4 separate regions of the Homo sapiens genome follow, and all the other regions are linked to region 1. The links are contacts of gene promoters, found by promoter capture Hi-C in blood cells and fetal thymus (Javierre and others, 2016). All regions are on one chromosome and are shown on one strand. The core of a region is centred on a gene start or on the middle of the fragment in contact, and the rest is flanking DNA. Distances in the headings are between cores, read along the strand shown.

Region 1 (5,041 bases), core at 1,343-3,842:
CAATGATTCCCCAAGACCCTTAAGATAAAGAAAACTCTGTATTATTCCCATTTTTTGAAGGGGAGCCTAAGAATTAATTAGGTTAAGTGACTGGCTTAAGATAATTGAGCTAGGATGGTGGAGTTGGGATTGAAGCTTGCAGGGTCCCAAGTTCTTAATTATCATGCTATCTTCTTAACAAAGCTTTCAAATTCCTTCATGATCTGGCCTCAGTTTCTGCATTCCCATCTCTTACTACTCCCTTCACTTGATTTCTACACTCTAGCTCTAAAAAAATCATTTCAGTTCCTCAAAGGAACCAGGCTGTCTTCTTTTTTTTTTTTTTTTGACAGAGTCTCACTCTGTCACCCAGACTGGAGTGCAGTGGTACGATCTCAGCTCACTGCAACCTCCGCCTCCCGGGTTCAAGTGATTCTCCTGCCTCAGTCTCCCGAGTAGCTGGGACTACAGGTGTGTGCCACCATGCTTGGCTAATTTTTTAAGTTTTGTATTTTTAGTAGAGATGGGGTTTCACCGTGTTGGCCAGGCTGGTTTGTTTGTTTGTTTTTCTTTTGAGACAGGGTCTCGCTCAGCCACCCAGGCTGGAGTGCAGTGGTGCGATCTCAGCTCACTGCAACCACCATCTCCCCGGTTCGAGCCATTTTCCCATCTCAGCCTCCCAAGTAGCTGGGATTACAGGCACTTGCCATCATGCCCAGCTAATTTTTCTATTTTAGTAGAGACAGGGTGTCAACATATTGGCCAGGCTGGTGTTGAACTCCTGACCTCAGGTGATCTGCCCGCCTCGGGCTCCCAAAGTGCTAGAATTACAGGCATAAGCCACCGTGCCCAGCCAGGCTGGTCTTTAACTCCTGCCCCCAAGTGATCCGCCCACCTCAGCCTCCCAAAGTGCTGGGATTACAGGCATGAGCCACCGTGCCCAGTCTAACTGAATTTTTTTTTTTTTTGACACGGAGCTTGCTCTGTCACCCAGGCTGGAGTACAGTGGCGCAATCTCGGCTCACTGCAACCTCCACCTCCCGGGTTCAAGCAATTCTCCTGTCTCAACCTCCCGAGTAGCTGGGATTACAGGCATATGCCACCACGCCCAGCTAATTTTTGTATTTTTAGTAGAGACAGGATTTCATCATGTTGGCCAGGCTGGTCTCAAATTCCTGACCTCAGGAGATCCACCCGCCTAGGCCTACCAAAGTGCTGGGATTACAGGCGTGTGCCGCTGCGCCCAGCCTAGCTGGAGATTTTTAATAGAGGATCCTCTGTCCACAGCACTCCTTCCCCTCACCTTTTTCTTCTTTCCTTAAATAGCTAATTCCTACCTTCCAAGGGTGGCTCTATGAAGCCTTTGCTGACTCCTCCAACCTGGTTTAAGTGACTTCCTATGCCCTTTATGGTATCCTGTGTTACTACTACCATGATTATGATGCATTATAATTGCCTGCTAACTTACTGTCCAGGCCCGAGTTAGAAATGCATCCTTTTTCTTTTTTTTTTTTTGAGACGGAGTCTTGCTCTGTCGCCCAGGCTGGAGTGCAGTGGCGTGATCTCGGCTCACTGAAAGCTCTGCCTCCCGGGTTCACGCCATTCTCCTGCCTCAGCCTCCCGAGTAGCTGGGACTACAGGCGCCCGCCACCATGCCCGGCTAAATTCTTTTTTTTTTTTTTTTTTCAGTAGAGACGGGGTTTCACCGTGTTAGCCAGGATGGCCTCGATCTCCTGACCTCGTGATCCGCCCGCCTCGGCCTCCCAAAGTGCTGGGATTACAGGCGTGAGCCACCGCGCCCGGCAGAAATGCATCTCTTATTCACCACTGTACCTCTCTCTGGTAACCAGCATAATGCTAGGCATATAATAAGCACTAAATAAATATTTGTTGAATTAAGAGTCTTTAGCAAGAAAGCCAAGTGCCTTAAGCCTAGAGTATAGTTTCAGCCTGGAAAGGAGTAGCCAATAATGCCTAATGGACTCAAGTGGTCACAAGATGCCATCATTGAGAAGGGACGTTCAAAGATCACAGAACTGAACACATGGAAAAAGCTGAGATCCAGGAGGAGACCTGAGGTGTCCAAAGCCACAGAGAAAAGCAGCAGCAGCAGCAGTACAACAATTTTGGCTCAAATCTGACTTCTAAGCTGGTTTGCAGGCTGTAAGTTCAGTGCAGAAGGCCAATCTCTAGGGTATCCACCTCTGCCATGCGGGCAGATTAAGATCCGGTTTTCTGTAGAGCAGGCTTGGCGCTCAGGTAAGGGATATGGATGGGTTCGCAATTGACGAGTGAGTGGATACAGAGTCTGGTTTGGAGTTCCAGGTCTGAGATCCAGTTTGGGTCGCGGGTTCAGGTCTCCCTCCCTCCCCTCCCCTCCCCCTCGGCGCACTCACATGCCACCCTGTGAATGACCCAGAAGGTGATGCCCACCTCCGCCAGGCAGAGGCAGGCGGCCACCAGCAGCGTGTAGCGCGGCTCCCGCAGCAGCAGGCGCCGCTCTTGCCAGGCGCGCTGCAGCCATTGCTTGCAGAGTCCCTCTGCCTGGGCCGCGGAACCGGACCGGCCGCGTTTCCGCAGCCCAGCCGCCATCTTAACGGTGCGCCGCTTGTGTGGGCCCACCACCCCCGGAAACCCGAACCTTCGACACTTAGGTTCCGCTTCCCGTGCCTGGCGTCCCACCAGGCTAAGCGCCGATCCGAGTAGCCAGTCTTCATTTACTCCACTAAAATGTAATTTTTCTGCATTTGTCTCCTCTGATGCACTCCACGCTCCATAGGAGCAGGGACAATGTCTTACTCCTCAGTTTATACCCAGCCCTGGGTACACAGGCGCTAATTTAGAACGAATGTCCAGAAAAGCAACATTCCTGCCTACCTCCCCCACAACCGCTGAAGCCAGCATTCTCCTTCGCCTGCGCTGGGAACATCTGTGTTCATGCTGTCTCTCCAGGAGGGCAAAGCCCCTGTTCGCGCCCCTCCTGCCTGCCCTTCGAGCCTTCCGGATGCTGAGAAAAATGAACCTTTCACTAATTTTCAGATTTCCTGATAAAAGTCATTCATATTGAAAATATGAGAGGACGCAGTGATGAGCCCACGTGAGTCTGACACCTTGAGTGCGGCCCTAGGAAATGACTTGGCAGTACAGCCGGAGGATTCAGGGTCTGGACGATAGTTTTCCCAGCCGGAGGATTCTTCGAAGAGCGCTTAGTAAAGGACGGAAGTTCCACGTGTTTGTGTTGAGCAACTGCAGGTGGTGGGCGGAGACACCAGCGCCCCGCCTTCTGCATCCTGCCTTCCGTATTGGCTGAAGGGCCGGCGGCTCTGGCTGCCCGGCGGTTGAGAGCATGGCCTCTCCAGGGGCAGGTAGGGCGCCTCCGGAGTTACCGGAGCGGAACTGCGGGTACCGCGAAGTCGAGTACTGGGATCAGCGCTACCAAGGCGCAGCCGATTCTGCCCCCTACGATTGGTTCGGGGACTTCTCCTCCTTCCGTGCCCTCCTAGAGCCGGAGCTGCGGCCCGAGGACCGTATCCTTGTGCTAGGTGGGTAATCCCGGCGCGGCCCCGCCAGGTAGAGCTGGCAGGACCGGCGCCGCATGGGCTTGGCCTGGTCCGCTTTCCTCCCGCCTGTCTATCCCTCTTGGAGGACGCCTGCGTTGGGACGCGAGATCCAGCTCCTTCAGAGTCCCGGCTGTATTTAGTCAAGGCTAACAGGAGTAAGAGATTGTTGGTCCCGGGGCCCTCTGGAGAAAGACAGTCCCTCAGAGTTTGAGCGTTGGGGGTACCCAAGACCCTGTCCGGACCCTCGGGAGGCAGGCAGCCTTGGGGACCGGATTGCTCAGAGGACCGAGATCAAGTCCTAGCGCTAATTGACTTGTAAAACTTAGGACAAGTCATGAACCCGTTCTGAGCTTTAGATTCAGTTCTAGAAATGGTACTGCGAGTTCACATCGGAGGCGGCACGCGCAGGCACCTCGAGAATAATGCCCAGCGCTTTTCTTTTTGCCCCTGGGCACTGGGAGCCAGAGTCACCTAGAGAGAGTCCTGTCTGAAACTTGGTCCTATGCCTTAGAGAGTGAGAACAGCACCCTCTAGGGGTGGAGGGGAGATTGCCGCCCAGGGTGATACGATTCCCCAAAGGGAGACGTGCTGGAGGAAAGGTAGGGCTCTGGGGTGTTCGGCTGACCTCTTGAGGTTCTCTCCTAGTGTCAGCCTTGGAGGCGCTAGTAAAGTTTGAATGAGCAACAGATTTTCTTCCAATTGTCGTTTTTACTTTGCTCTTTGTAAAAGCCTTTGTATGTTTAAGTGAAGTCTTTAATAAATAAAAAAGGTATATGTAATATATATGTAAGGTATAAATAACAAATCTAATGTGTGTGTCTATTCCACTCAGTTTGAGAAATAGAACATTACTAGGGATAGAAAAAAAAGTATAATTTAGTGGTTAATAACTTGGCTGGGCGCGGTGGCTCACGCCATTAATCCCAGCACTTTGGGAGGCCAAGGCGGGCGGATCACCTGAGGTCGGGAGTTCGAGATCAGCCTGACCAACATGGAGAAACCCCATCTCTACTAAAAATACAAAAAATTAGTCGGGTGTGGTGGCGCATGCCTATAATCCCAACTACTTGGGAGGCTGAGGCAGGAAAATCGCTTGAACCAGGGAGGCGGAGGTTGTGGTGAGCCAAGATCATGCCATTGCACTCCAGCCTGTGCAAGAAGAGCAAAACTCTGTCTCAAAAAAAAAAAAAAAAAAAGAAAAGAACTTGGACTCTGGGCTGGCCTCATGATTCATGCTCATAATCCCAGCACTTTGGGAGGCCAAGGTGGAAGGATCACTTGATCGCAGGAGCTCAAGACCAGCCTGGGCAACATAGTGAGATCCCATCTCTACAAAAAATTTAGGCCAGAGCAGTGGCTTATGCTTGTAATCACAACACTTTGGGAGACCAAGGCGGGTGGATCATTTGAGGTCAGGAGTTCAAGACAAGCCTGGCCAACATGGTGAAACCCCGTCTCTACTAAAAATACAAAAATCAGCCAGGTGTGGTGGCACGTGCCTG
Region 2 (5,041 bases), core at 1,787-4,286, 240 kb before region 1:
GCAAACTTGTAACATGAAGACAAGTTAAAGATAAATACATCTGAGAAATTTTGTTTTTTGACAGGTAACGGTCAAGCAGATTCTAGATGGTGTCTGAACTTACAAAAATACTTAGTAGCGATGCATTCATTTTAATGTATATACAAAAATAGCTTGAATAAACCTATGGGCTTATTGTTGTTGTTTTGCTAGGTCTAGACTAAGTAACAGAAAGAGAGTAGAATAAAAGAAATCTTTTAAAAAAGTTCAGAGATTACAAGGATACAGTAAAAATCAGGAAAACAGTACTCAAATTTCAAAGTTTAGGGGCAGGGTGTGGTGCCACATGCCTGTAATCCCAGCACTTTGGGAGGCTGAGGCGGGAGGCTTGCTTGAAGCTGGGAGTTCAACAACAGCCTGGCCAACAGTGAGAGTGCCTCTACAAAAAAACAAACAAAAAAAATTTAATAAAAAATAAAAGTTCATGGCCAGATGTGGTGGCTGACGCCTGTAATCCCAGTACTTTGGGAGGCCAAGGCAGGCGGATCACTTGAGCTCAGGAGTTCAAGACCAGCCTGGCCAATGTGGTAACAGAGAACAGCAGGTAGGCACCTGCTGTTTAGGAGGCTGAGGCAGGAGAATTGCTTGAGCCCGGGAGGTGGAGGTTGCAGTGAGCTGAGATTGCACCACTGCACTCCAGCCTGGGTGACAGAAGGAGACTTCGTCTCAAAAAAAAAAAAAAAAAAAAAAAGTTTAGGAAACATGAAAGAATAATAAAAATAAAATTCATAAAATTCATGTGGATTCCTGAAATTTTATAAAAGTGGTATTAGCCTTCATATTTCTCTGAGATAAGGCTTCAGTGGCATGTTGAAAACCTGCTACAGTGGTGGCTGACTCCATATCCTTTAGGGTACTCAAAGCCCAGCGGTGCCTACCTGCTGTTCTTCTCCACTTCGTAGAGGAAAAGCTCGCTGCTGCCACTGCAAACCCTGATGTCAACTCTACTCTCACAAGCTGGGGACCCTATCCCCAGAAATTTCACAGGACCACACACCAGCTCCACAGCCTCCACCTTCTCCTGCTCTGCAAGCCATCCTTGGGTAAGCCTGCTCACTCTCACAGCTTCACCTATGTGGACACACTAAAGGCTCTAAATGTTTTTTCCTACACTACTTCTTGTCTATGCTCTACCTACTGATAATTTTACCCATATGCACTTCAAATTCAACATCTTCAAAATCAAAATCATTCTTCTTCTTTTTTTTTTTTTTTTGGAGATGGAGTCTCACTCTGTTGCCCAGGCTGGAGTGCAATGGCGCGATCTTGGTTCACTGCAACTTCCGCCTCTCAGGTTCAAGCGATTCTCCTGCCTCAACCTCCCAAGTAGATGGGGTTTCACTGTGTTGCCCAGGCTGGTCTCAAACTCCTGAGCTCAGGCAATCCACCAGCCTCGGCCTCCCAAAGTGCTAGGATTACGGGCGTGAGCCACCGTGCCCGGCCCAAACTCATTCTTAATATCTCCCCAATCTCCTTTTCTTATGTCCACGAATAGGTTTAAATCCTTACCATCAATCCCAGACACCCCAATGCCTCCCTATCTTCTAGAAACGCCTTTCCTCCATCCTCACTTCTGTGCTTTACAACAGAACCCTGGCCTCTCTGACATGGATAGGCAGAGCCGCTTCCTGAATGCTCTTTATATTTGGTCTCTTTCTCCTGTACAGGTTTTTTTCTGCATTGCTTCAAGACTAATCTAAGATAAAAATCTACTCTCAAACATCGTAGCCATTAGGGAACTGCAAATTAAAACCACAATCAGATACCAGGCACATCTATAGGAATGGCTAAAATAAACATTATAACATTGAGTACTGGCAACAATGTGGAAAAACTGGATCATTGCTGGTGGGAATGTAAAATGGCACAGACACTCTGGGAAAGAGTACTGCAGTTTCTTACAAACTAAATATGCACTTACCATATGACCCAGCAAGCGCAGTCCTGGGCATTAATCCAGAGAAATAAAAGCTTATGTTCACACAAAATCCTGTAACTGAAGGTTCAGAGCACCTTTATGTATAATTGCCATTAACTGGAAATGACCCATATGTCCTTTAACAAATGAATGGTTAAAGAAGCTATGGTACATCTATAACACGGAATGCTACTCAGCAATACAAAGGAAAGAACTATTGATGCACACAACAAAATTAGATGGCTATCAAGGGAGTTCAGCTGAGTGAAAAAAGCAATCTCGAAAGGTTATATACTATATGATTCAATGTATATAGCATTCTTAAAATGACAAAATTACAGAAATGGAGAAAAGATTAGCAGTTGCCAGAGACTGGGGTTGAGGGGACATGACTGTGGCTATAAAAGGGTAACGAGAGATCCTTGTGATGGAACCTTTGCATCCTGACTGTGGAAGCGGTCACACAAATTTACACCTTTAAAAAATGCATAGAACACAACACACACACACACACACACACACACACACACAAATGAGTGCATATAAAACTGGTGAAATCCTAAAGTCAATGGATTGTATCAATGTCAATCATTATCCTGTTGTGATACTGGACTATAGTTATGCAAGATGTTACCACTGGGGGAAACTGGATGAAGAATATATAGGATCTCTATATTATTTTTTATAATTGCATGTAAATCTACAGTTAGCTCAAAATAAAAAGGTTTTTTTTTTTAATCTCATTAACTTCCAATAGTTCCCTAATGCCCACAGTGAAATATTTCTTAGCATGGCATGCAGAATTTCACCCGACCTATAATCTCTTTACACATCCTATGCCCTGAACAACTAGTTCTAAGAGCTAACATTTATTGAGCACTGGCCATGTGCCAGGTACCATTTTAAATATTTTATATGTATTATCTCATTTACTCCTCAGTGATCCCATGAGTCAGGTACTACTGTCAACCCCATTTTATATACAAATGACGTAAGTAGCTTATCCAAAGTCCCAATATGTCACACGCTCTTTCCATACCTTTGGGTCTGTACTTGTACCGCCTAAAAAGCCTCCCCACCTAATCACCCTTTAAGGCCCTGCCCCAATGTTACCTTCTGACTTTTTCCAGACTTAACTGTTACACTAAATGTGTCTAGCACTCAGATGTAATGGATAGATGTTTAATCAACATAAGGTCTAGACAAAAGGACATGAGGAAGTTATAAAACTGGCACCACGAGAAGCATTTGACACTGATTACATTAAGCCTGTTTCTCTGAAGTTAAACCTGAATGGAAAAGCATTCTATAATACACAGTAGGGTACAGAAAAGACTCATTAGCAAGAAAATGTTCATTAATAAAGCAATGGCTTTAACACAACCAAAGAGGGAAAGGTAGTATCAGGCTAAGGAAAGGCCAGTGTCAGCTGCAAAGTCCATTATCTTTCTCAAATTTTCACATAACAAATACACCAACAAAAACCTCAACTTCCTAAACCTAGTCCATTCTGCCTTATTAGGTACTTTTGTAAGAAAAGGTATAATGCTTTTTTTCCTCAGGAAAAAGAATATTTTCTCGAGGTAAAAACGCATCTTCATTATTTCCCTTGGAGGAAATTAGATTATTATCTAAAGACTGCTTAACTTATGAATTCGCTTGAAAAACATACTGATAATCCCACAACTATCTAGAATTGTTCTGAAATCTGAGTCTCTCCAAAGGATTCACATTTTATTTTATTTTTTATTTTTTTGGAGACGGAGTCTCACTCTGTTGCCCAGGCTGGAGTGCAGTGGCGTGATCTTGGCTCACTGCAACCTCTGCCTCCTGGATTCAAGCAATTCTCCTGCCTCCCTCCTGAGTAGCTGGGAGTACAGGTGCCCACCACCACACCTCACTAATTTTTGTATTTTTAGCAGAGACAGGGTTTCACCGTGTTGGCCAGGCTGGTCTCAAACTCCTGACCTCAAGTGACCCACCCACCTCAACCTCCCAAAGTGCTGGGATTACAAGCATGAGCCACTGTGCCTGGCCAGGTTCACATTTTAAACACACATGACAGAAAGTAGAAGAAAACACCAATTTTGTTTAGGTACATGAATGAAGCTTAATTGGCTTTATATTCCCTGTCATTGACCCCATGACCCCCTCCCCCTCAATAAGTTGTCTTCTGTTAAGTATAGCCTTTTCAGAAGGCACCAACATAGAATAAAAGTGAAAAAGAGGAGAATGCTCAGAACAGACCGGGTGAGAGGGTGACAGCCAGCCTCTCTTCCACTTATTGAGTGCTTACTATGGACCAGAGACTTATCAATAACCATAAATTCTTAACAGTAACCTAAAGCCAATAAAGAAAAACACATTTTTTTTTGAGACTGAGTCTCGCTCTATCGCCCAGGCTGGAGTGCAGTGGCATGATCCCAGCTCACTGCAACCTCCGCCTCTTGGGTTCAAGCGATTCTCGTGCCTCAGCCTCGCAAGTATCTGGGATTATAGGCGCCCGCCACCACGCCTGGCTAATTTTTGTACTTTTAGTAGAGACAGGTTTTCACCATGTTGGTCAGGCTGGTCTCGAACTCCTGACCTCAGATGATCCACCCGCCTCAGCCTCCCAAAGTGCTGGGTTTATAGGCGTGAGCCACCGCGCCCGGCCAAAAAATAAGTTTCTAAATTACCCATTATACGAAAAAAGATGTGTTTTAGTACAACAAGCAGGTAAGAGACTCTTAGGAAAGGAAACTGACCGGTCGAGTTCTCCTGAACTTGGAATCTTCACGGTCTCTGTGCGTCCCAGAAGTGCTGGTTCTCTCCCTCACACTTCTATACCCAGGACTGGGGATGATATACTCTTTTCCTATGTCGATATCCTTCATCTTCTCTGAGTGGAGGTTCCAGGGCTCACAGACTGTTAGTTTCACATCAGAATTCCTGAAATTAAAAATTCATCAAGAAATAGATTATTTCCTAAACAGTACTTAACCATAAGCTCAAGTGCCTTAAAAATAGGAAAAAAAAAAAAAAGGCAAAAGTACTAAAGCTTTCTACTGTTATAGCTACAAAAATTAATTTTCAAAAAAAGTT
Region 3 (5,041 bases), core at 1,278-3,777, 190 kb before region 1:
GTGTGACACATTTTGGTAGCTGTTTAAGATTCAGGGAAGACATTTGAGTGGTGTAGGTATCATTAGAAAAGGTTTTGGATCAGTGTTGCTCCACTCCGGTGGCCTAACAAAGCTTTTTGAAAATACCAATAACTGGCCAGGCACAGTGGTTCACACTGTAATCTCAGCACTTTGGGAGGCAAAGGTGGGACAAACGCTTGTGCCCAGGAGTTTGAGACCAGCTTGGGCAACATAGTGAGACCCCCATCTCTACAAAATATAAAAAGAATTAGCCCCAGCTACTTGGGAGGCTGAGGCAGGAGGATTGTTTGAGCCAGAGAGGCTGAGGCTGCAGTGAGCTGTGATTGCACACTGCATTCCAGCCTGGGTGACACAGTGAGACTCTGTTTTTAAAACAAAAAACAGGCAGGGCGCAGTGGCTCACGCCTGTAATCCCAGCACTTCGGGAGGCCGAGGTGGGCAGAACACGAGGTCAGGAGATCGAGACCATCCTGGCTAACACAGTGAAACCTCATATCTACTAAATATACAAAAAATTAGCCTGGCCTGGTGGTGGGCGCCTGTAGTCCCAGCTACTTGGGAAGCTGAGGCAGGAGAATGGCGTGAAACTCGGGAGGTGGAGGTTGCAGTGAGCCGAGACTGCACCACTGCACTCCAGCCTGGGCGACAGAGCGAGACTCCGTCTCAAAACAAAACAAAACAAAACAAAACAAAAAACAAAAACAAAAGCCTAATAAGCGCACATCACCCCAGATGCCGATTAAATTGTTCCAGGTGGGGCCCAGGTGATGCTAACGTGCAGACGGGGTTACGACCTGCTGCTTTACAAGCTGAGTGGCCCTTGTGCCAAATGAGGCCCAGCTGACTCTGAGCTGCTGCACACCTATAATTTTTAGCTCAAATCTTTTAACTCTAATAGCTAACACACTTAAAAACCGGTAAATTAATATAACCGAATGCCACCAGGTGTCATGTGGCAGATTTGGATAAACTAAAACCATCAAAATGGGCATGCCTATAATTATTAAAATATTGAGCTATTCAAGCTTGATTCCACTAAAACACCACCATACGACTGGGGGACTGAGAAGGAAAATAGGAATGACTCCAAAAGTTCTTGACTCACGTTTCAGTCATATCCAATATTCCCATAACGAACTTGACTCACTCTTGTTTTCAACAACAAAAGAAATTAATGCCGCTGCCCACACACATATGAATTGCTAGTCGGGTAACCCACTTCTGAGAAAACCAGGATACCTTGCTTTAAAAGGATAGAGGAAAATTTGGTTTAGAAGCTCAGTGGGGGAGGACTCCAATTTCGTGGGCGGGAGGCTTGGGAAAACGTCTGCAATGAACTGACCGGCCTCCCTTCCAGTGGACAGCATGCTGCTGGGCATGGACAAGGAGGTGTGGGAGATCACAGACACGTCTCGCAAAGTCATCCAAACCCAGGGGGAGTGGGAGCTCTTGGGCATCAACAAGGCCACCCCAAAGATGTCCATGGGCAACAACCTATATGACCAGATCATGTTTTATGTGAGTCCAGGGGCCCCTGTTTGACTTCTGATCCCAGCAGCTCTTTGATTGTCCTCTTGACCTATGGCTCTTTGGGAAGCAAAAAAGAAGCTCCAGGCCGGGTGCAGTGGCTCACACCTGTAATCCCAGTACTTTGGGAGGCCGAGGGAGGCGGATCATGAGGTCAGGAGTTCAGGACCAGCCTGGCCAACATGGTGAAACCCCGTCTCTAATTTAAAAAACACAAAAATTAGCTGGGTGTGGTGGCACATGCCTGTAGTCCCAGCTACTCGGGAGGTTGAGACAGGAGAATCACTTGAACCCAGGAGGCGGAGGCTGCAGTGAGCTGAGATAATGCCACTGCACTGCAGCCTGGGCAAGACAGAATAAGACTCCGTCTCAAAAAATAAAATAAAATAAAAATAAAGCTCCAGAGGGTTGGGCACCTGCTCCCCACTGCCCCATCTACCTAATTGCCCTGAAGCAGGATCCCCAAGGCCTCCCCCACTCCCCATTTGCCCACTCCTCATTCACCCACTCCTGCTCTGGAGAGGGCAGGAATGGCTGGACTGTAATAAGCCCTGCTGCTCAGAATGGATCAGCTCACCCCTACTGCTCAGAATGACTTAAAGGGCCCACTTGCACCTAAAATTCTACAGTCATTGTGTTCCTAGTAGGTTAAAAATGAATAAAAATTAGACAACAAATCAGAGGCCCCTATGTAGGCGAGCACAATTATATGCAAAAGTGTTACTTAAAAAGATCGTCCCCAGCAGCCTCACAGCACATTGGCAAAGATTAGGGGTCAGATATACAAATTGAGCCCTCTGACATCTATTTATTTGCCATCTTCTCCGGTCTCTCTCCAGGTGGCCATCAGGCGCAGGCCAAGCCTCTACATCATAAACCTGCTGGTGCCCAGTAGCTTTCTGGTTGCCATTGATGCCCTCAGCTTCTACCTGCCAGCAGAGAGCGAGAATCGTGCCCCATTCAAGATAACACTTCTGCTGGGCTACAACGTCTTCCTGCTCATGATGAATGACTTGCTCCCTGCCAGTGGCACCCCCCTCATCAGTATGGCTCCTCCCACTTTCAGGAGGAGAAAGGGCACCCGGGGCCAGGGAGGAGGGCCAGGAGAAATGGCCGCTGCTCCACTGAAGGAAGGAAGGGGCTGTGAAAGAAGATTGGATTTAGGAAAGAGGCGTGAGGAATGCTTAGAGATAAATTTGCCTGGTTTATTTATAATTTGCTCTGCCCTCAGGTGTCTACTTCGCCCTGTGCCTGTCCCTGATGGTGGTCAGCCTGCTGGAGACCGTCTTCATTACCTACCTGCTGCACGTGGCCACCACCCAGCCCCCACCCATGCCTAGGTGGCTTCACTCCCTGCTGCTCCACTGCACCAGCCCAGGGAGATGCTGTCCCACTGCGCCCCAGAAGGGAAATAAGGGCCTGGGTCTCACCCTCACCCACCTGCCTGGTGAGGGAAGCCAGCACTGTCCATACTCGCCCTTCACACTGGGCCCAGCACTCCTCTAATCCTGTCCCCTTCCCACTCCATGACTGAGCCTCTGTCCTCTCCACAGGCCCAAAGGAGCCGGGGGAGTTAGCAGGGAAGAAGCTGGGACCCAGAGAGACCGAGCCAGATGGGGGCTCAGGATGGACAAAGACCCAGCTAATGGAGCTGTGGGTGCAGTTCAGCCACGCGATGGACACCCTGCTCTTCCGCCTCTACCTGCTCTTCATGGCCTCCTCCATCCTTACTGTCATTGTCCTCTGGAACACCTAGGCAGACATCCCCCCTCTCTGGCAAACAACAGCTTGGAGTTTCTGCTGGTCTTGGGCCAGCCGGACTCATTTTCCTAATCTTAGCCACTTATCCCCAGTGACTACCATGTCCCCTTCTAAATTCCAAAGACTCCAACGCAGCACTAGCAAGCAGGTTCGGGACAGCCCTGGACGATTTCCCGACCGCTGCTCAGGCTGCTCATTCCTGCTCACCCTCAGTCTCCCTGAGCTACCACCTAACTCCTCACTCCCTGATCAATGGAAGTCCAGGTCAGTGGAGTCTCTCCTTGATTGATCACCCCAATAAACAACTTTCCAGGAAGCACTGGCTCTTCAGTTTGTTTGTTTGTTTGTTTGTTTGTTTGTTTATTGAGACAGAGTCTCACTCTGTCACCCACACTAGAGTGCAAATGATGCCATCTCAGCTCACTGCAACCTCCGCCTCCCAGGCATGATTCTCATGCCTCAGCTTCCCAAGTAGCTGGGATTACAGGTGCACACCACCACACCCAGGTAATTTTTGTATTTTTAGTAGAGACAGGGTTTTGCCATGTTGGCCAGGCTGGTCTGGAACTCCTGACCTTAAGTGTTCCGCCCACCTCGGCCTCCCAAAGTGTTGGGATTACAAGCGTGAGCCACCTCGCCCAGCCCTCTTCATTATATTTATTATAAGTCTACAAACTCTGCGGTGGAGAGTCCTCTTGCAGAAGCTTTGATACTTCCCCCTAAGCAGGTGTAATCTGATGTGATTTTAAGGGTTTTAGATACTTTCAGAGTTTTATAAGAATAAGAAGGCCAAGTCTTATTTGCAAGAAATTATTTCATTTGCAATAAAATATTTACAAATGCAAAATGTTCCTTTCAGCAACCATTTCTTTTTCACTTTCCTTTACCTCTCATTCCTGAAATTGCTCTTTGAAATAAATCATATCTTGTGTCATTCTTTTTTATTCTAACAGGTTTCTCTTACTTCACAACATCAAACAGAGCGGGCTTTCTAAATATGTGTGCTTGAGGCTGGGGGGTTCATGCCTGTAATCCCAGCACTTTGGGAGGCCGAGGAGAGAGGCTAGGAGTTTGAGACCAGCCTGGGCAACAAAGCGAGACCTTGTCTCTACAAAAATAATAATTAACTAATTAATTAATTAAAAATTAGCCAGGTGCAGTGGTACATGCCTGTAGTCCTAGCTACTCGAGGGACTAAGGTAGGAGGATCGCTTGAACCCAGTTCAAAGTTACAGGGAGCCACGATCGCACCCTTGCAATCCAGCTTGGGCAACAGAGCAAGAACCAGTCTCTTAAAAATAAAATGAAACGAAGAAAGGTTTTTTAAGTTCCCTGTTAATAGTAGTTCACAGCAGGGCTCGGTAGCTCACACCTGTAATCTTAGCACTTTGGGAGCCCAAGGTGGATGGATTGCAAGGTCAGGAGTTCGAGACCAGCCTGGCCAATATGGTGAAACCCCATCTCTACTAAAAATACAAAAGCTAGCTGGGCATGGTGGTGTGCACCCGTAGTCCCAGCTACTCGGGAGGCCGAGGCAGAAGAATTGATTGAACCTGGGAGGCAGAAGTTGCAGTGAGCCGAGATTGTGCCACTGCACTCCAGCCTGGGTGATAGAGCAAGACTCTGTCTCAAAAATAATAATAATAATATAGTAGTTCACACCTTCATCAACAGCTATAATCATGGGAGAATTCTAATAGCTAGCTGCAAGAAAGACCCTGAGGAGAAACAG
Region 4 (5,041 bases), core at 1,831-4,330, 150 kb before region 1:
AATCACTTGAATCCAGGAGGTGCGGGTTGCAGTGAGCCAAGATTGTGCCATTGCACTCCAGCCTGGGCGACAGAGTGAGACTCTGTCTCAAATAATAAAAAAAAAAAGGCTGGGCACAGTGGCTCACACCTGTAATCACCGCTACACAGGAGGCTGAGGCAGACGGATCACCTGAGGTTGGGAGTTCAAGGCCAGCCTGACCAACATGGAGAAACCCCATCTCTACTAAAAATACAAAAAATTATCCAGGCATGGTGGAGCATGCCTGTAATCCCAGCTACTCGGGAGGCTGAGGCAGGAGAATTGCTTGAACCTGGGAGGCGGAGCTTGTGGTGAGTGGAGATCGTGCCATTTCTCTCCAGCCTGGGCAACAAGAGTGAAACTACGTCTCAAAAAAAAAAAAAAAAAAAGAGACAGACATGTATAGCAATGGAATAGAATAGAGAACCCAGAAATAAACCGTCACACAAATGGCCAAATTATTTTTGCAAGAGTTCCAATGGGGAAAAGACAGACTTTTCAAGTAGTAGTATTGGGAAAACTGGATATCCATATGCAAAGAAATGAAGTTTGACCCTTACCTAAAACCATATACCAAAATTAACTCAAAATGGATAAAATATTTTACATGTAGGGCTGGACGCGGTGGCTCACTCCTGTAATCCCAGCACTTTGGGAGGCTGAGGCGGGCAGATCACCTGAGGTGGGGAGTTCGAGTCCAGCCTGACCAACATGGAGAAACCCCGTCTCTACTAAAAATACAGAATTAGCTGGGGGTAGTGGCACATGCCTGTAATCCCAGCTACTTGAGAGGCTAAGGCAGGAGAATCACTTGAACCCAGGAGGTGGAGGTTGCAGTGAGCTGAGATCATGCCATTGCACTCAGCCTGAGCAACAAGAGTGAAACTCCGTCTCAAAAAAAAAAAAGAAGATTTAAGTGTAGACCTAAAACAATAAAACTCCTAAAAGAACACATAGGGAAAAAGCTTCAAAACATTGGAGTTAGCAGTGATTTCTTGGATATGACACAAAGGCATAGGCAACAAAAGAAAAAATAGACAAATAGTACTTCATGAAAATATTAAACATCTATGAATCAAAAGACACTATTAACAGAGGAAAGAAGACAACCCACAAAATGGGAGAAAACATTTGCAAATTATATAGCTGATAAGGGATTAATATCCAAACTATACATAGAATTCCTGAAACTCAACAACAAAAAACAACTTGATTTAAAAATGGGTAAAAGGTTAGCCATAGTGGTTCATACCTGTAAATTCCAGTGATTTGGGAGGCTGAGGCAGGAGGATTGCTTGAGGCCAGGAGTTCAACACCAGCCTGGGCAGCATAGCAAGGCCCTGTCTCTAGAAACAATAAAAAAAAATTAGCCACACATGGTGGCATGCACCTGTAGTCCCAGCTACTTGGGAGGCTGAGGTGGCAGGATTGCTTGAGCCCTGGAGTTCAAGGCTACAGTGAGCTATGATCATACCACTGTACTCCAGCCTGGGAGACAGTGAGACCCTGTCTCTAAAAAAAACAAAACAAAACAAAAAGCAAAACTCAGTGGACAGATTAGACACAGCTGAGGGCCGGGCACGGTGGCTCACGTCTGTAATCCCAGCATGGTGGCTCACAGTTGAGGGCCAGGCATGGTGGGAGACAGTGAAACCCTCTCTCTAAAAAACAAAAAAACAAAAAAACAAAACCAAAACTCAGTGGGCAGATTAGATGGACAGATTAGACACAGTTGAGGGTCAAGCACAGTGGCTCACTCCTGTAATCCCAGCACTTTGGAAGGCCGAGGTGGGCAGATCAGCTGAGGTGAGGAGTTCAAGACCAGCCTGGACAACATGGTGAAACCCTGTCTCTAATAAAAATACAAAAATTAGCTGGGTGTGGTGGCACAAGCCTGTAGTCCCAACTACTCAGGAGGCTGAGACAGGAGAATCGCTCAAATCAAGGAGGTGGAGGCTGTAGTGAGCCAAGATCACGCCACTGCACTCTAGCCTGGGCAACAGAATGAGACTCCATCTCAAAATAAAATAAAATATGGAAGGCATCCATACTTGCATTTTGCATTCTTCGTATGTAATCATATTGTCAAAGACAAATTATGTCATAATCTATTGTAAATAACACTTTTCCCCAGACCTACCATAAAGTTTCTGCAATGTATTGTCTTCCAGTTGCAATAAAAATTACTGAGTTTCATCAAAAATTAATTAATTAATTAATTAAAATAAACACAGTTGAGGAGAGAATTTTTTTCCTGGAAGCTAGATCTGAAGAAATCATTAGGGACAGAGATAAAGAGGTAGAAAATAGGAAAGAGAGGTGTGCTAGGCAGAATAACGGCCCCCAGAATTTGTCCACATCCTAATCTCTGGAACCTTAGGTTATATGGAAAAGGGGAGTTAAGGTTGCAGATGGAATTAAGGTTGTTAATTATCGGACTTTGAGATGGGGAGACTATCCTGGATTATCCAAATGGACACAATGCAATCACAAAGGCTCTTATAAGTGGAAGAAGGAGAGAGAAACAAATAAGAACCAGAGAGATGAGATGCCTTGTGAGAAACATTGGCCTGATGTTGCTGGTTTTGAAGATGGAGAAGTAAAAATAATGAACCAAGAAATACAGGCAGTTTAAAAGCTGGAAAAGGCCGGGTACAATGGCTCATGTCTATAATCCCAGCACTTTGGGAGATCAAGGTTGGAGGATCACTTGAGGCCAGGAGTTGGAGACAAGCCTAGGCAACAAAGCGAGACCTCATTTCTACTAAAAAAAAAAAAAATAGCCAAGCTTGGTGGCTCACACCTGTGAGGTCCCAGCTACTTGGGAGGCTGAGACGGAAAGATCCCTTGAGCCCAGGAGGTCAAGGCTGCAGTGAGTCGCGATTGCGCCACTGCACTCCAGCCTGGTCAACAGAGTGAAACCCTGTCTCAAAAAAAAAAAAATCTGGAAAAGGCAAGGAAATGGATTCTCCTCTAGAGCCTCCAGAGGGAATGCGGTCCTGCTGACACATTCATTTTAGCCCAGTGAGACCCATTTCAAACTTCTGGCCCACAGAACAGTAAAATAACAAATTGTGTTTATTTAAGCCACTGGGTTTGTGATTTGTTACAACAGCAATAAAAGGCATGTAAGATAGAAGGAAACCATTCAACACATGTCTAATAAGAAAAATAGAGGAAGTGAAACATTTATAAATGTCTGAGAATTTTCCAAAATTGAAGAGATGAGTCTTCAGACCAAGGGATCTCACCAAGATCTGCAAGTTGATCACGTATGAACTATCTATAACCATTTACGTTGCAGTGAAATACCTAAGACTAAGATAAAGTCTTAAAAGCAGACTGAACCTTAAGCATAGGCAAGAACAAGACAACCAGAACACTCTTTGAAGGAAGGTTACAAATGTCAGTGGTCAACCAATGCTATTAGTATTCAAAGTCAGACTCTAGGTGTGGCCTGTGCTGCTTTAATCTGGGCATTCCTGGGTCCCAGTACATGTTCAGAGAAGAACTTAGACAAAGAAGATGGAAGGAAGCTGGTTCCACAGGAAAAGATTTTCCTTCTACCTCCTTCTCGGTTTTCTGCTTCAAGGTAAGAAAGGAGCAATGATGGGGGAAGGCGGAAGAAGGAGGACCTCTCTCTAGTAGAACATCTAGGAACTTTTTTCAAATTTCCAACTCCTAGAGATTGTCTAAGATGGATAGAGTTCTTTCATAGCTACATTACTAAGATGCCCACATAGACTTTCCTTTTCTGAAAGACGGAAAATCCCCTTCCAGTTACATGCCAAACAAGAGCACTTTCATTTTCCTTCTCGAAAAATAGAGTTCAACACCAGCAAACTTTATCCTTTCACATATGGATATCCAGTTTTCCCAATACTACTTGAAAAGTCTGTCTTTTCTCCATTGGTACCCTACATGGAAGACAACCATCCACGATCGTCTTCTCTTGTATTTAGCTTCTATATCCATCCATCTTTCTATCCACAGGTGTAATTCTTTCTCTCTACAGGTATGAAACCCAAACCATTGTAGCAAAGTGCCCACCTCCTTTAGCCATAATTTCCCTGTCCATCTGCTGGATCCAAGGGCTCTAGGTTAGGTAAGGTGCCAGAAGGCAGCAGGTCAAGGGTGAAAGTAGAATGTGCTTCTCTTCCAGGGGGTCAGCATGGTAGAGAGACAAGAACATGGGATTTGGAGACAGGTGGACCTGGGTTTGAATCTTGGTGTCTCACGTTGCTAGTTTTATAAACTTGGATGCACTGCTTAACTTATCTGAGCTCTGGTTTCCTCATCTGTAAAACAGAACCTACCTTGCAGGGTTGTGAGGATTCAGTAAGAGAAGGAGGGAAGCACAGTGTCTGGCACTTGGTAAAAGTGCCAATAACTGTCATCTCTCCTCGTTAGATTATTCCATGACTTTGGATAAGGAGGCACAGGAGAGGACTGAACCAGAGGTGACTTTAAAGGCCAGCACAGGGAAGAGACACAAATTGTACACCTGGTCTAGGCAGTGTAAATGGTTATGAAAGCTCCTCTGGGCACTTGCACACAGGGGTTGACAAATGAATATTCACTGTTCTTAGAGTGGTTTAAGAATTTGCTGGAAAGCACTGTGACGTTGGGAATGGATAAGGCTCAATGTCCTTGGCACAGAGGTTATCAACCATCTCTCTCAGTCCAAGTTGTTGCTCCTCCAACACATTTTCATGACTAGAAAATTTAAAAATTTATTAGTTAGAAGAGGGTGGGACGGGTCAGGTGAGGTGGCTCACACCTGTAATCCCAGCACTTGGGACGCTGAGGCAGGCGGATCACCTGAGGTCAAGAGTTCAAGACCAGCCTGGCTAACATGGTGAAACCCCATCTCTACTAAAAATACAAAAACTAGCCTGATGTGGTGGTAGTGCCTGTAATCCCAGTTACTTGGGAGGCTGAGGCAGAAGAATCGGTTGAACCTGGGAGCCAGAGATTGCAGTGAGTCAAGATCGCACCACTGCACTCCAGCCTGGGTGAC

The links. The method cuts DNA at HindIII sites, captures the fragments that hold promoters and counts their contacts. A CHiCAGO score of 5 or more calls a contact.
Region 2: a contact is called between a fragment that was not itself captured here and the fragment with the promoter of ALG3 in region 1, in 3 of 17 cell types (endothelial precursors, M2 macrophages and erythroblasts). The highest score is 7.5, in endothelial precursors.
Region 3: a contact is called between a fragment that was not itself captured here and the fragment with the promoter of ALG3 in region 1, in 1 of 17 cell types (M1 macrophages). The highest score is 6.9, in M1 macrophages.
Region 4: the fragment with the promoter of HTR3E here is called in contact with the fragment with the promoter of ALG3 in region 1 in 9 of 17 cell types (M0 macrophages, endothelial precursors, M1 macrophages and 6 more); the score reaches 20.6 in M0 macrophages.

What each region holds. Positions count from the first base shown.
Region 1 is chr3:184,246,370-184,251,410 of GRCh38, forward strand. ALG3 (ALG3 alpha-1,3- mannosyltransferase) reads right to left here and starts at 2,593. Exons shown (of 9, transcript NM_005787.6): 1 at 2,376-2,593. The coding sequence starts at 2,571. EEF1AKMT4-ECE2 (EEF1AKMT4-ECE2 readthrough) reads left to right here and starts at 3,303. Exons shown (of 19, transcript NM_014693.4): 1 at 3,303-3,521. The coding sequence starts at 3,326. It overlaps EEF1AKMT4 (EEF1A lysine methyltransferase 4), which reads left to right and starts at 3,303. Exons shown (of 3, transcript NM_032331.4): 1 at 3,303-3,521. The coding sequence starts at 3,326. RefSeq lists enhancers at 1,174-1,917, 1,918-2,661, 2,860-2,909, 2,990-3,049, 3,080-3,189. The HindIII fragment of the contact is 5,512 bases long and covers 182-5,041 here.
Region 2 is chr3:184,009,560-184,014,600 of GRCh38, forward strand. It overlaps ABCC5 (ATP binding cassette subfamily C member 5), which reads right to left. Exons shown (of 30, transcript NM_005688.4): 2 at 4,705-4,888. The coding sequence starts at 4,833. It overlaps ABCC5-AS1 (ABCC5 antisense RNA 1), which reads left to right. Exons shown (of 3, transcript NR_046570.1): 2 at 892-1,082; 3 at 1,707-1,860. LOC124909468 (a long non-coding RNA gene) reads right to left here and starts at 392. Exons shown (of 2, transcript XR_007096191.1): 1 at 266-392; 2 at 1-5. RefSeq lists an enhancer at 847-2,046. The HindIII fragment of the contact is 2,056 bases long and covers 2,009-4,064 here.
Region 3 is chr3:184,057,049-184,062,089 of GRCh38, forward strand. HTR3C (5-hydroxytryptamine receptor 3C) reads left to right here. Exons shown (of 9, transcript NM_130770.3): 6 at 1,379-1,539; 7 at 2,388-2,592; 8 at 2,780-2,995; 9 at 3,102-3,625. The coding sequence ends at 3,304. Among named protein-coding and RNA genes, the nearest start is that of HTR3C, 6.5 kb to the left of the region's middle. The HindIII fragment of the contact is 2,967 bases long and covers 1,045-4,011 here.
Region 4 is chr3:184,093,984-184,099,024 of GRCh38, forward strand. HTR3E (5-hydroxytryptamine receptor 3E) reads left to right here and starts at 3,081. Exons shown (of 9, transcript NM_001256613.2): 1 at 3,081-3,613. The coding sequence starts at 3,547. HTR3E-AS1 (HTR3E antisense RNA 1) reads right to left here. Exons shown (of 3, transcript NR_133658.1): 3 at 1,135-1,367. The HindIII fragment of the contact is 4,461 bases long and covers 2,808-5,041 here.